Linked DNA regions of Homo sapiens: regions 2 and 3 are each linked to region 1. The links are contacts of gene promoters, found by promoter capture Hi-C in blood cells and fetal thymus (Javierre and others, 2016). All regions are on one chromosome and are shown on one strand. Each heading gives the region's core, a stretch centred on a gene start or on the middle of the fragment in contact. The rest is flanking DNA. Distances are from core to core; before and after follow the strand shown.

Region 1 (4,082 bases), core at 1,583-4,082:
ACAGGAAGCAGACAGTGATAGAAAGTGATAAATGTGGCCGGGCGTGGTGGCTCAACACCCGTAATCCCAGCACTTTGGGAGGCTGAGGTGTGCAGATCATGAGGTCAGGAGATTGAGACCATCCTGGCCAATATGGTGAAACCCCGTCTACTAAAAATACAAAAACTAGCTGGGCGTGGTAGCATGTGCGGGTAGTCCCAGTTGCTTGGGAGGCTGAGGCAGGAGAATTGCATGAACCTGGGAGGTGGAGGCTGCAGTGAGCCGTGATCACGCCATTGCACTCCAGCCTGGCAACAGTGAGACACTCTGTTAAAAAAAAAAAAAAAAGTGATAAATGCTGTGGTAGAGGAAAGTTCTGGCTGAGGGATCTTGGTGGGAAGAGCATATCAGCTTATGAGTAGCAGCGTTGCTGATTGCCACTGAACTCAGGCTGGAAAAGTTAGCAAGTTTTCACCAAGTCAGGTCCTGGACTAGAATAAACAAAGGCTCACTGCTTGAGAGAAGTTGGCTGAAGGGTATAGTGTTAAGGGGGATGTGACTACATGGCAAGGGCCAAGTCACAAGGAATGAGATTCTTGTTGAAGGGGTTGGACATTATCCCTAGGGTAATAGGGTTTTTTTGTTTGTTTGTTTGAGACAGCGTCTCCCTCTGTTGTCCAGGCTGGAGTGCAATGGCATGATCTCGGCTCACTGCAACCTCCGCCTCCCGGGTTCAAGCAATTCTCCTGCCTCAGCCTCCTTAGTAGCTGGGATTACAGGCATGCGCCACCATACCTGGCTAATTTTTTTGTTTTTTGTAGAGACAGGGTTTCACCATGTTGGTCAGGCTGATCTCGAACTCCAGACCTCGTGATCTGCCCGCCTGAGCCTCCCAAAGTGCTGGGATTACAGGCGTGAGCCACTGTGCCCGGCCTATGAAGGGTTTTTTTCCCTTCCCATGAAGAATTTTAAGATAAAACATCACATTGGCCAGGCACAGTGACTCATACCTGTGATCCCAGCACTTTGGGAGGCTGAGGTGGGAGGATCACTTGAGCCCAGGAGTTGACCAGCCTGGGCAACATGGTAAGACCCTATCTCTACAAAAAAGAAAAAAATAACAGTAATCACATTAATGTTTTAGTTAGAGCTGTCTTGCTGCAATGTGGAGAAGGGATAGTAGGGAGACACAGGAGGCTGGGAGGACAGTGAGAAGGCTGCCTCAGTGATCCTGGAGAAGGGATGAGGTCTGAACTGAGATAAGGGGCTATGGGGATGAAGGTGGAAGAATAACTCAACTTTTTTTAAAAATTAACATATTCCTTTATTCGTTTGGTCAGTATGTGAACCTCAAATATATGCTAGGTGCTGAGGATATCATGAAGAAAACAGAATTCCCTGACCTCAATGAGCTCACATTCTACTCGGAGGGGATAAACCATAAATACGTGTAGAATTTCAGATGCTGATGAGTTGTGCTATGGAAGAAATTAAGGAAGTGAGGGGAAATTTTTCCAGGGGGTGTGGTGGTGGGAGGTGCTGAACTAGTAAAGTAGGGGATTGCAGGAAGCCTTGCTGATGTTACAGTTGAGCTTCAATATGAAGGTGATGGAGATCCATTTCGGCATCGGGAACTGAAGCTGACAGAGGAGATGGCAAATGCAAAGGTCCTGAGGCAGAACTGCTGTGGATGGAACAGAGTTAGGGAAGCAAAGAAGTGGCAGCTAGATGAATCAGAAGGGGAAGAGGCAGATAGTGTGCAGGGCCATGTAGAGCCAATGCAAGAACTTTTACTCTGAGATGAGAAACCAGTGGACGGGTTTTGTTTCTTTTTGAGACAGAGTCTTGCTCTGTTGCCTAGGCTGGAGTGCAGTAGCACGATCTCAGCTCACTGTAGCCTCTGCCTCCTGGCTTCAAGCAATTGTCCAGTCTCAGCCTCCTCAGTAGCTGGGACTACAGGTACACATCGCCACGCCTGGCTAAATTTTGTAATTTTTAGTAGAGTTGGGGTTTCAGCATGTTGGCCAGGCTGGTCTCCAATTCCTGACTTCAACTGATTCTCCAGCCTCAGCCTCCCAAAGTGCTGGGCTTACAGGTGTGAGTCATCGTGCCTGGCATTTTTTTTTTTTTTTTTGAGAGGGAGTCTTGCTCTGTTGCCCAGGCTGGAGTGCAGTGGTGCAATCTCGGCTCACTGCAACCTCTGCCTCCTGGGTTCGAGTGATTCTCCTGCCTCAGCCTCCCAGGTATCTGGGATCACAGGCGCCCGCCACCACTCCCGGGTAACTTTTGTATTTTCAGTAGAGACGGCGTTTCGTCATATTGGCCGGGCTGGTCTTGAACTCCTGACCTTAGGTGATCCACCTGCCTTGACCTCCCAAAGTGCTGGGATTACAGGTGTGAACCACTGGGCCCAGCCTCCCCTCCTCCACTCCGAAGGATTATTTGCTTAATTATTCAGTCGTAAGATTTAGTTACAGGCTTTGAAAGGAGGAGTAATGAAATCTCAGTTGGACTCAGCTAAGCAAAAAAGGGAAAATAAGTATTATCTCCATTTTACAGATGAGGTAATGCCTAATGATGACAATATGTGCGGCCAAGCTAGGATTCAAGTCAAGTTTGACTCCAGCAGCCGTGCTCTTAGTCGTAACCATGAATGGACAGTGGTTCCCTGAACTCTTCCTCCAGCTTGGTCCCCTGTCCCCAATTTTCAATTACTAAATATCCCATCAAACTGGGGCCAGCCCCACGCTCCTGGCCAAACTTCCACCGAGGTGCCGGCAGATGGCGATGGAGCCACCGACGGGCCACTCTGTCTGGCGCACGCATCTCTGTGCTGCCAGGTCGCAGGCGCCGCCGCCGCCGCACTTCCGGGTGCCATTGCAGGTGAGCCAGGGTCTCCCGAGAACCTCACCCCCCGGTATTCCCCTCACCCTGAAGTAAGGGAGTCTCCCTCTTCCCCTCAGCTCCTAACCAAGGTGCTCAGTACCGCGGCTAGGGTGCCCAGCGGGAGGCTGGGTAGTTACCGGAGGAGGCAGAGCCGGTCGCACGCCTGGGTCCCAGCGGAGGCCCAGTCGACTCTCGACCCGGGCCCCAGCCTCCTTGCGTGGCGAAGGTCGTGCCTCAGGTCTCCTGGCGAACCTGGCCGCCCGGAAGCGGAGAGTGACTCCTCCCCTTCGTCCCCTCGGTGCCCGCCAGGCGGCGCCGTCGGCTGGGCCCGGATTCCCCTGCGGCTTCGATCCCTTTCCACTGGGTATTGAGATTGGCGAGGGGAGAGGCGCAGAAACGGCGTGTAAGAGAGCCTGACTACCAATTGGAATAAGTTTCCCTCCTGACTGTTCACATGTACAGGCAGCATTAGCATTTCCTGCCTGTACATGTGAACGTTCCTATGCTCTACCCCTCGAAGATCCTGATTCAGTAGATCTGGGGTGGGACCTCATGAAACGGCGTCTCCCTCTGTTGTCCAGACTCTAGTGCAGTGGTTCAATCTCGGCTCACTGCAACCTCCGCCTCCCCGATTCAAGCGATTCTCCTGCGTCAGCCTCCCCAGTAGCTGAGACTACAGGTGCCCGCCACCCATTTTTGTATTTTTAGTAGGGACGGGGTTTCGCCATTTTGGCCAGGCTGGTCTCGAACTCCTCACCTCAGGTGATCCGCCCGCCTCGGCCTCCCAAAGTGCTGGGATTACAGGCGTGAGCCACCATGCCCAGCCTGGAAATAGGAGGAGAGTAATATTGCGAGGGGTTGGCTGTGAAATGGTTTATCTCCAGGAAGGTTTCCGGGAGGAAGTGATTCTAGCTGGGCTTGTATTCAGGGACCAGAATATCCACTGGTTCTTTGCCCCACAGTAATGAATTTACTTCCCCACCCCTATCAGGATGCAGAAAGCCTCAGTGTTGCTCTTCCTGGCCTGGGTCTGCTTCCTCTTCTACGCTGGCATTGCCCTCTTCACCAGTGGCTTCCTGCTCACCCGTTTGGAGCTCACCAACCATAGCAGCTGCCAAGAGCCCCCAGGCCCTGGGTCCCTGCCATGGGGGAGCCAAGGGAAACCTGGGGCCTGCTGGATGGCTTCCCGATTTTCGCGGGTTGTGTTGGTGCTGATA
Region 2 (3,774 bases), core at 1,215-3,714, 190 kb after region 1:
AAGGCGGGCAGATCACGAGGTCAGAAGATGAGATCCAGACCATCCTAGCTAACACAGTGAAACCCCGTCTCTACCAAAAAACAGAAAAAATTAGCCAGGCATGGTGGCGGATGCCTGTAGTCCCAGCTACTCGGGAGGCTGAGGCAGGAGAATGGCGTGAGCCCGGGAGGCGGAGCTTGCAGTGAGCCGAGATCGCGCCACTGCACTCCAGCCTGGGCGACAGAGCGAGACTCCGTCTCAAAAAAAAAAAAAAAGGATTTCTTCTCTTTATGTTCTAAGGTACCTCTCAAAAGAACAAAGTAGTCTCTGTAAATAGTTCACTTAAGTGTTTGCTGCAATTGCAAACGGTCCCTGGTAAAATTGTGACAGACAGAGAAGCATACAAGATAATGTGATAGTGAGAAACCATACAGGAATTGAGCATTTGGCCTAGATGAGGCTCAGTTTGGGATGAGGCAGAACACGTGAAATGTCAATGGTCCATAGGATGGTGCTTGTCCAGAGCTTGGCCAAAGGCCAGGCTGCCACTGATGACAGGCTAGCTAAACCTCCCAAGTTGGGCAGACAAAACTAAACAAATTAGTCCCCAAAGACACAAAGATAAGATAAGGGAAGAGCCAGGTATAGCGGTGTGCTCTTGCAATCCCAGCTGTTTAGGAAGCTTGAGCCTGAGAGTTCGAGGCCAGCCTAGTCAACATAGTGAGACCCCATCTCTTAAAAAAGAGAAAAAGGGGGCCGGGCATGGTGGCTCACCTGTAATCCCAGCGCTTTGGGAGGCTGAGGCAGGTGGACCACAAGGTCAGGAGTTTGAGACCAGCCTGACCAACATGGTGAAACCCCATCTCTACTAAAAATACAAAAAATTAGCCGGGCATGGTGGCAGGCACCCTGTAATCCCAGCTACTTGGGAGGCTGAGGCAGGAGAATTGCTTGAACCTGGGAGGTGGAGGTTGGAGTGAGCCAAGATCGCACCACTGCACTCCAGCCCAGGCGACGACGTGAGACTCTGTCTCAAAAAAAGAAAAAAAAAAAAAAAGAAAAGAAAAGAAAAGAAAAAAAGGATGAGGTAAGATAAAATAAGATTGAGAAAGAAGTCCTTATAAGGATTTGAAGTGGTGACCCGAGACAAAGTCTGTCCAAAGGACACCATACTATGGAGGCTTTCTGAAGTCCTCAACCCCTTGTGTACTGGCTTGAGGGACTGTCTTATTGGATCTTTACCTGTCTTCTCCCTATAGATGTTTCCTGTTCCCTTTTCCCAGAGACATGCATGAGTTGCTCCCTTATCTCCTACTGGTCTTTGCTCCAATATCATCTTCTCAGACCTCCCCTTGCCACCTATTAAAAATGACAAATCTTGTTTATACTCTTGACTTAGTCTCTTCTTTATTTTTCTCCACTGCACTTATCACCATCTAACATACTACATATTTTCCTATTTGTTTGCTTTCTCTCTCCTTCCACTAGAATGAAAGCTCCCAGAGGGATTTTTTTTTCTGTTTCCGTCTTGACTATAACAATGCCTTTCACATAAACAAATGTACCCAATTTAAATTTGAGGGATCAATGAATTGTCTATGGCAGTGGCAGTGAAGACAAAAGCCTTAAATGGAGCCTAAAATATCCTTACAACAAGAAGTGCCCCTTCCTCAATTACAAAACATTTGTTTCTGGGGTATGGTATTAGTTCCATAAGCTAGAAGAGAAAACTTACAGCAGGTGAAAACTACTGTGAAGAGGCCGGGTGTGGCAGCTCACGCCTATAATCCCAGCACTTTGGGAGGCCGAGGCGGGCAGATCACGAGGTCGGGAGTTCGAGACCAGCCTGACCAACATGATGAAGCCCCATCTCTACTAAAAATACAAAAATTAGCCAGGTGTGGTGGCGGGCACCTGTAATCCCAGCTACTCGGGAGGCTGAGGCAGGAGAATTGCTTGAACCTGGGAGGTGGAGGTTGCAGTGAGCCGAGATCATGCCACTGCACTTCAGCCTGGGTGACAGAGCAAGACTCCATCTTGGGGGAAACAAAACAAAACAAAGCAACAAAACAAAAAACAAAAAACAAAACCCCAAAACTACAGCGAAGAAAGAAATCAAACTGGAAGGATAAGAAAAAGGGGAAAAAAAACTAAACAAAGACAATCCAAAAAGAGGATTAAATTGGATGAAAGACTGGACCAATGAAAAGAGATAGAGTGCAATGGATGAAAGAAAAGATGGCATTTTGAAGCACTAGCCTTTTACCGATAAATGTTGTATTACAGGAAAGGAGTATCTGTGATCTACGGGACAATCAATTATCAATTATGTAAAATACTAACTATATGAAACCACACTTCGTCTTCAGAGCAGAGGTTCCCCTTCTAGGTGGCAAAGGGGAAATGTCCCTTCACCTTTAGAAGGGTCTATGAAAATCAACCGACAAAAAGCAGATTAATAGGTGAAAAGGCATACAAGTTTATTAATGTGCATGAGGGAGGGGATGATTAATAGAGTAATTATTACTGAATAACCCAGTGTGGTACAGAAATTTACATATCCTTTTTCATGGACAGTAGGAAATAAGGAATGTCAACAATTCCTTTGAGGGGCAGTAAGTCATTAGGGAGAATGAATGGACCCAGGAGTTGGGAGGCCTACGTTAAGGGAAAGTGAGAGGTAGAGCTACACGGGAACAAAGGTTGTCCTACACAGATAAAGTTCCCTGGGTGATCTCTTGGGGCTACCATCAGCAGAACAGATGAAAAATCTGGATCAGCAAAGTGGCTCACAACTGTAGTCCTAGCCCTTTGGGAGGCCAAGGAGGGAGGATCCCTTGAGGCCAGGAGTTTGGGACCAGCCTGGGCAATATAGTAGACAACCTGTCTCTATGAAAATAAAATAAAAATTAGAGGGGTGGGGTGGTGCTCACCTACAGTGAGCTATAATCACACCACTGCACTCTAGCCTGGACAACAGAGCAAGAGTCTTCTCTTTAAAAATAGTGTGTCTGGGTGTGGTGATGACACCCAATTTCTTCTCTTCTCCAGTGGTTGATCTTTCCTGGTTATTTGAATCCCTATGGAGGGGATTTCAGACAACTGCATTGCATTTCTTTTGGAAACAAAGTTACTTGTTTAGATAAGGAAATTCCAAGAGAGTCCCTCCCTGCACTTTGAGTGGGGGGAATAAAAGAGTTAGGGGTTAGGGTTAGGGATCTTGATTCTGAGGCAGCTTTTTTTTTTTTTTTTTTTTGAGATGGAGTCTCATTCCATTGCCCAGGCTAGAGTGCAGTGGCGTGATCTCGGCTCACTGCAAACTCTGCCTCCTGGGTTCAAGCGATTCACCTGCATTCTGAGGCAGCTTTTAAGGCCTCACCATGTCAAAGCATCAGGAAGGAAGCACCATGTCAAAGCACAATGAAACTTAAGATTCCTTTCTGCTGACTCCAAATTTTTAGACAAAACTTTACACCTTTAACCACTTGTAAATTAAAGAATCTCTCAATCCATGTATAACGTGTAAGATCTGCTTCAAGACATCCTGCCTTTCTGGGCTGAACCAATGTATACCCTTCATGTACTGATTTATGACCTTGCCTGTAACTTCTGCCTCCCTAAAATGTATAAAACCAAATTGTAATCCAACTGAGGCAGGCACACTTTCTCAGGACCTCTTGAGACTATGTTACCCAGGCCATGGTCACTCATATTGGCTCAGAATAAACCTCTTTAAAATATTTTCAGAGTCTATTTTTTTCCACTAACAGCCCCAACACCCTCAACAACTTCTCA
Region 3 (3,984 bases), core at 35-2,534, 210 kb after region 1:
CACAGATCAGGAAAGGACACTCTGAATACTGACAGGCCTTGATCAGCAGCAACAGGGCTTGCCAGATGCTGTTACTGATGATCCTGAGCTGCCCAGACCCTGTCCCAGGAAGCCACTGAGAAACTTGAGACAAGTTTTGGCCCTTCTGTCAGGGCTGCCTGCTCTCTATTATGTGGCTCTTTCCAGGGCTGTGGCCCAGGCAATCACTCACGAATCCACAATCACAGATTGAGCCCATCAGAGCCTCTGACTCAATCTCATCTGAACAGCAATGTGTAAGTCCTGGGCCATGCTTTCAAAACACCAATGAAGCTTGTGTAGATAACGTACAAGTGTTCTGCACTAAAACACAAGCTGATGGAGATGGTACCGCTAGAGAGGCAGACAGATCCTCACAGCCCCTAATCACTCAAGGCACCCATCTTGGCCAAACTAAATTTCTACCTGAAAAATAAATTCCTTGAGATACATTTGGGAAGTCCCATAAAAACAAGGGAATCCAGGGAACAAATTTTCACCATCCCAAAGAATATCTCCACACAGGGATCCTTTAGGAGTCTAAAGATTGCTAAACCAAGGGAAAACATTACTCCAGAAACTTCATATCCCACCAGGCATCCCATGGGCCCCAGATCCAGAAGGGGTTGGACTGAAAGAACAGCTTGCCGTTGAACTAAAGACAGTGCAGCAGAGCTACAAGTGATCTAGTTCCATAGCAGTACCCCATGCCCACTGGGATTCTGGGATCTCACACCCAGTGGAGACATGACAGAGGCCCAGGTACTTTGTGTTCAGCTGGAGGCTAGAGTGAACAACCCAGCCTGGAGGGCCCTAAGCCCCTTAGACCAGGTCTTTGCAAAAGTGAGGACAAGTCCCTACCCCAGCAGAGAAAACAGTTGACCCAGTGACATTTGATGACATTCAAAGCAGCTGGAAATCACAGAGAAGGGGGTGTCTGGACAGCACTGGAGCTCTCCCCAGCCAGAGAGAACACCCTTTCTGCCAAGGTTCAGGGGCGAGTAGGGGCACTTCTAAGCAGAACTCCAGAGCTCACAACTTGCCAAATATATCTCCAGGATCTTTCTTAGGTAAAACTTTAGTTTAGCTAAGATGGTTGCCTTGAGCAGAGACTAGCAAGGATCTGTCTGGATCTGCGGAGCCCCATTTCCATCCTCTCAGTACTGGCTATTGCTGTTTCACCAGCTTCTCCATAACCTTGAGTTCCAAGAGCATCCTCCAGGATTACTTGGGGCAAAAGGACCAGATAAGAATAATTTGCAAAGCTGTTAGAGTAAGCCGAATAACCTCATCCAAACAAGGATTTCTGAGAATGCCAAACCGGGAGTGCCCAGAGCTTAAAGGGCCAACTTACTGGGCCATTACTTGCTGGGCCAAAATTTTGCAAGTACAGTATTTGAAGGGGTAAATTTTTTTCAGATCCAAAGTTTTCAGGGTCAAATAGTTCAGGGCCATGTTTTACAGGGCAAAATTTGCAGGGTCAAAATTTGCAGGGCCACACTTTCTAGGGCTAAGAGTTGCAGGGTCTGGTAAGGGCAGTCCATACTCACAAGAGCATCATCCTTCCAGAAGCTCCAGAAGTTGGCTTGGATAACAAGATGAAGCTGTTTCTGCACTGGATTAACCCTGAAATGAAAGATCGAAGGCATGAGGAATCCATTCTCCTTTCTAAGGCTGAGACAGTGACCCAAGACAGGACAAAAAACATTGAGAAGAGTCCAACTGTCACCAAAGATCATGTGTGGGGAGCTACAACACAGAAGACAACAGAGGACCCTGAGGCTCAGCCTCCTTCTACTGAGGAGGAAGGCCTGATCTTCTGTGATGCCCCCAGTGCCTAAATAATCTGCTCTAGCAACACTCCCTTCAGTCCAGCCAATCCTGGGTCCTGTGCCACTCCTACAAATGCTCCAAACTCTGTCCTCAAATGACTTGTGCCACTCAACCAGGAAATCTATCCCAGGTCTAACTCACCTCAGCAGAAGGCACTGTTTTATGCAAGAATACCCATCACAAGAAAAAGGAGTTCATAGGTTCCTGAACCTCTGCAATCCCCTGAAAAAGGCTTTCATTGCCATTTCCATTAACATGCAGGTGAAGCAGGGCATTCTCCAAATATACTTTGTACCTTTAAGCAAAGAGCCACCTGTTTGTGCCTCCTCATTTTCAATGTGGTATATGATAGACAGAGAGAGTAAAGGACCTAAAAAGTACTTCTTATGTGGTATAGAAGCTTAAATCACATTTTATTTCAGATGGGTCAGCATTCCACATGACTCCTCCCAGCCCCACCCTAGAATGTGGATAAAGGGACTTGACAGAGAAGAAAGGCCCTTGTTTTAGGTGCATTGAAAGAAAAGGTCAGGCTTGAATTCTATTGTCCCATGGTGTGTTGGGCTCAGAGGAGGAATGTGGACATGGCGACAGTATAAGAAGCAGTGGCCAGGAATCTAATGCATTTTTGGCCCACAGGCAAAATTCATTGATGACTTCTATACAGTATATGCTGACAACCTGGAGGGAAGGTCCTTTAGAGTGCCATGGTGCTCCTTCCTTTAGGAATGTTTATCAAAAGCACACAGCTAATATGACAGATGTCAAAACCAGATGATAGAATCTCCCTGTCTTTTCTCTGTTGTTACTGAGATCTTTAAGGGTAACCCAACTGAGAGCCCACTCTAGTCCTGTTGCCTGTTCCAACCTCCATTGCCTTTCATTTGCATGGAAAGAATGCTGCCTAGAATGAAGACTAGTTGATGAAGAGATCCCTAAAAGGGTCACAATAAAAACAACTTTGGGCTGAGTCTTGCATTCAACAATTCAAATATTCAAGTACTTGCTATGTGGCAGGCACTATGCCAGGCACTACAGAGATAACAGTGAACGATACACAGGCCTTGTCTGAAAAAGCTCATGAACTCTGGGATAGACAGTCATATAAAAAGTCATTAGAAGCAATAAGATGAAAGTACATAGGAGGGCACTTAATCTAGTTTTGGGGAATGTTCACGGAAAGTTTCCTAGAAGAGATGATATGTAAGTTGAGTTCTAAAGGATGAGCAGGCATTAGTTGGGAAGGAGGTAGGGAGTAGAGAGGCTTTCCCAGGCTGAGAGTACAACATGAACAGAGGCATGGCATCAAACAACAGCATGCCGTGTCAGAGAATAGTGACTCACTGGAGAAACCCCTGTATAATAATTAAAAAAAAAACACAGTAAAATGTTTAAGGGATCAGAATGAGGTTGCCAAGCTGGAGAATGAATGGCATTCTTTCACCCATTCTTCATTCCTTCAATAAATATTGAGCACCTATTATATGCCAGGCACTTTTATAGGCACTGGGAATACAGCAGTGAACATAAGAGGAAAAAAAAATCTGCTCTCTCAAGGAACTTACGTTGGGAGCATGCCTGGGAGGAAGAGAAAAGAAGTATAAATAAAAAACATAGTATATAGAAGGTGACCAGATATATGCAAAAAAATCAGGGTAATGGGATTAGAGAAGACTTCAAAAGGGATACAGTTTTAAATAAGGAGCTCAGGGAAGGTATCACTAGGAAATTAAAATGTCAGCAAGGACTTGAGGGTGATAAGCGAGTAAACCACGTGGGTAAACGAGGAAGAGCATTCCAGTCAGAAATTACAGCTAATGCAGATGCCTGGAGGTTGGAGGATGCCCAGCCTGTCAGAAGGAACAAGGAAGCCAGTGAACCTAAAGCAGAGTAATAAAGGAATAAAGGGAGAAAGTGGTAGAGGATGACTCCAGTGGTAAGGGGCCACATGGTATAAGGCCTGGTAGAAAGCCAGCAAGGAAGCTGGCTCTTACTTTGAGTAAATTGGGGAGCTATTAGGGGGTCTGCTTAGATCTGACTTATGTCTTAAAGGATCACTTAGGTCATAGTGCTAAAAATAAGAGCATTGGGGGTATAGATTTGAGTAGAAGCAGGGAGATTAGTTGTAAGGTT

Evidence for each region. The method cuts DNA at HindIII sites, captures the fragments that hold promoters and counts their contacts. A CHiCAGO score of 5 or more calls a contact.
Region 2: a fragment that was not itself captured here is called in contact with the fragment with the promoter of PIGO in region 1 in 12 of 17 cell types (naive B cells, naive CD4 T cells, total B cells and 9 more); the score reaches 12.0 in naive B cells.
Region 3: a fragment that was not itself captured here is called in contact with the fragment with the promoter of PIGO in region 1 in 11 of 17 cell types (M1 macrophages, naive B cells, total B cells and 8 more); the score reaches 8.9 in M1 macrophages.

What each region holds. Positions count from the first base shown.
Region 1 is chr9:35,095,341-35,099,422 of GRCh38, reverse strand. PIGO (phosphatidylinositol glycan anchor biosynthesis class O) reads left to right here and starts at 2,832. Exons shown (of 11, transcript NM_032634.4): 1 at 2,832-3,268; 2 at 3,857-4,082. The coding sequence starts at 3,858. It overlaps PIGO-AS1 (PIGO antisense RNA 1), which reads right to left and starts at 3,119. Exons shown (of 2, transcript NR_186491.1): 1 at 3,003-3,119; 2 at 1,279-1,663. RefSeq lists an enhancer at 2,826-3,165. The HindIII fragment of the contact is 7,045 bases long and covers 1-4,082 here.
Region 2 is chr9:34,906,105-34,909,878 of GRCh38, reverse strand. It overlaps a transcript of PHF24 not described here. Among named protein-coding and RNA genes, the nearest start is that of SPATA31F3, 12 kb to the right of the region's middle. The HindIII fragment of the contact is 3,602 bases long and covers 664-3,774 here.
Region 3 is chr9:34,887,239-34,891,222 of GRCh38, reverse strand. SPATA31F3 (SPATA31 subfamily F member 3) reads left to right here. Exons shown (of 5, transcript NM_001309427.2): 5 at 1,591-2,157. The coding sequence ends at 1,859. It also overlaps a transcript of PHF24 not described here. Among named protein-coding and RNA genes, the nearest start is that of SPATA31F3, 6.5 kb to the left of the region's middle. The HindIII fragment of the contact is 1,939 bases long and covers 315-2,253 here.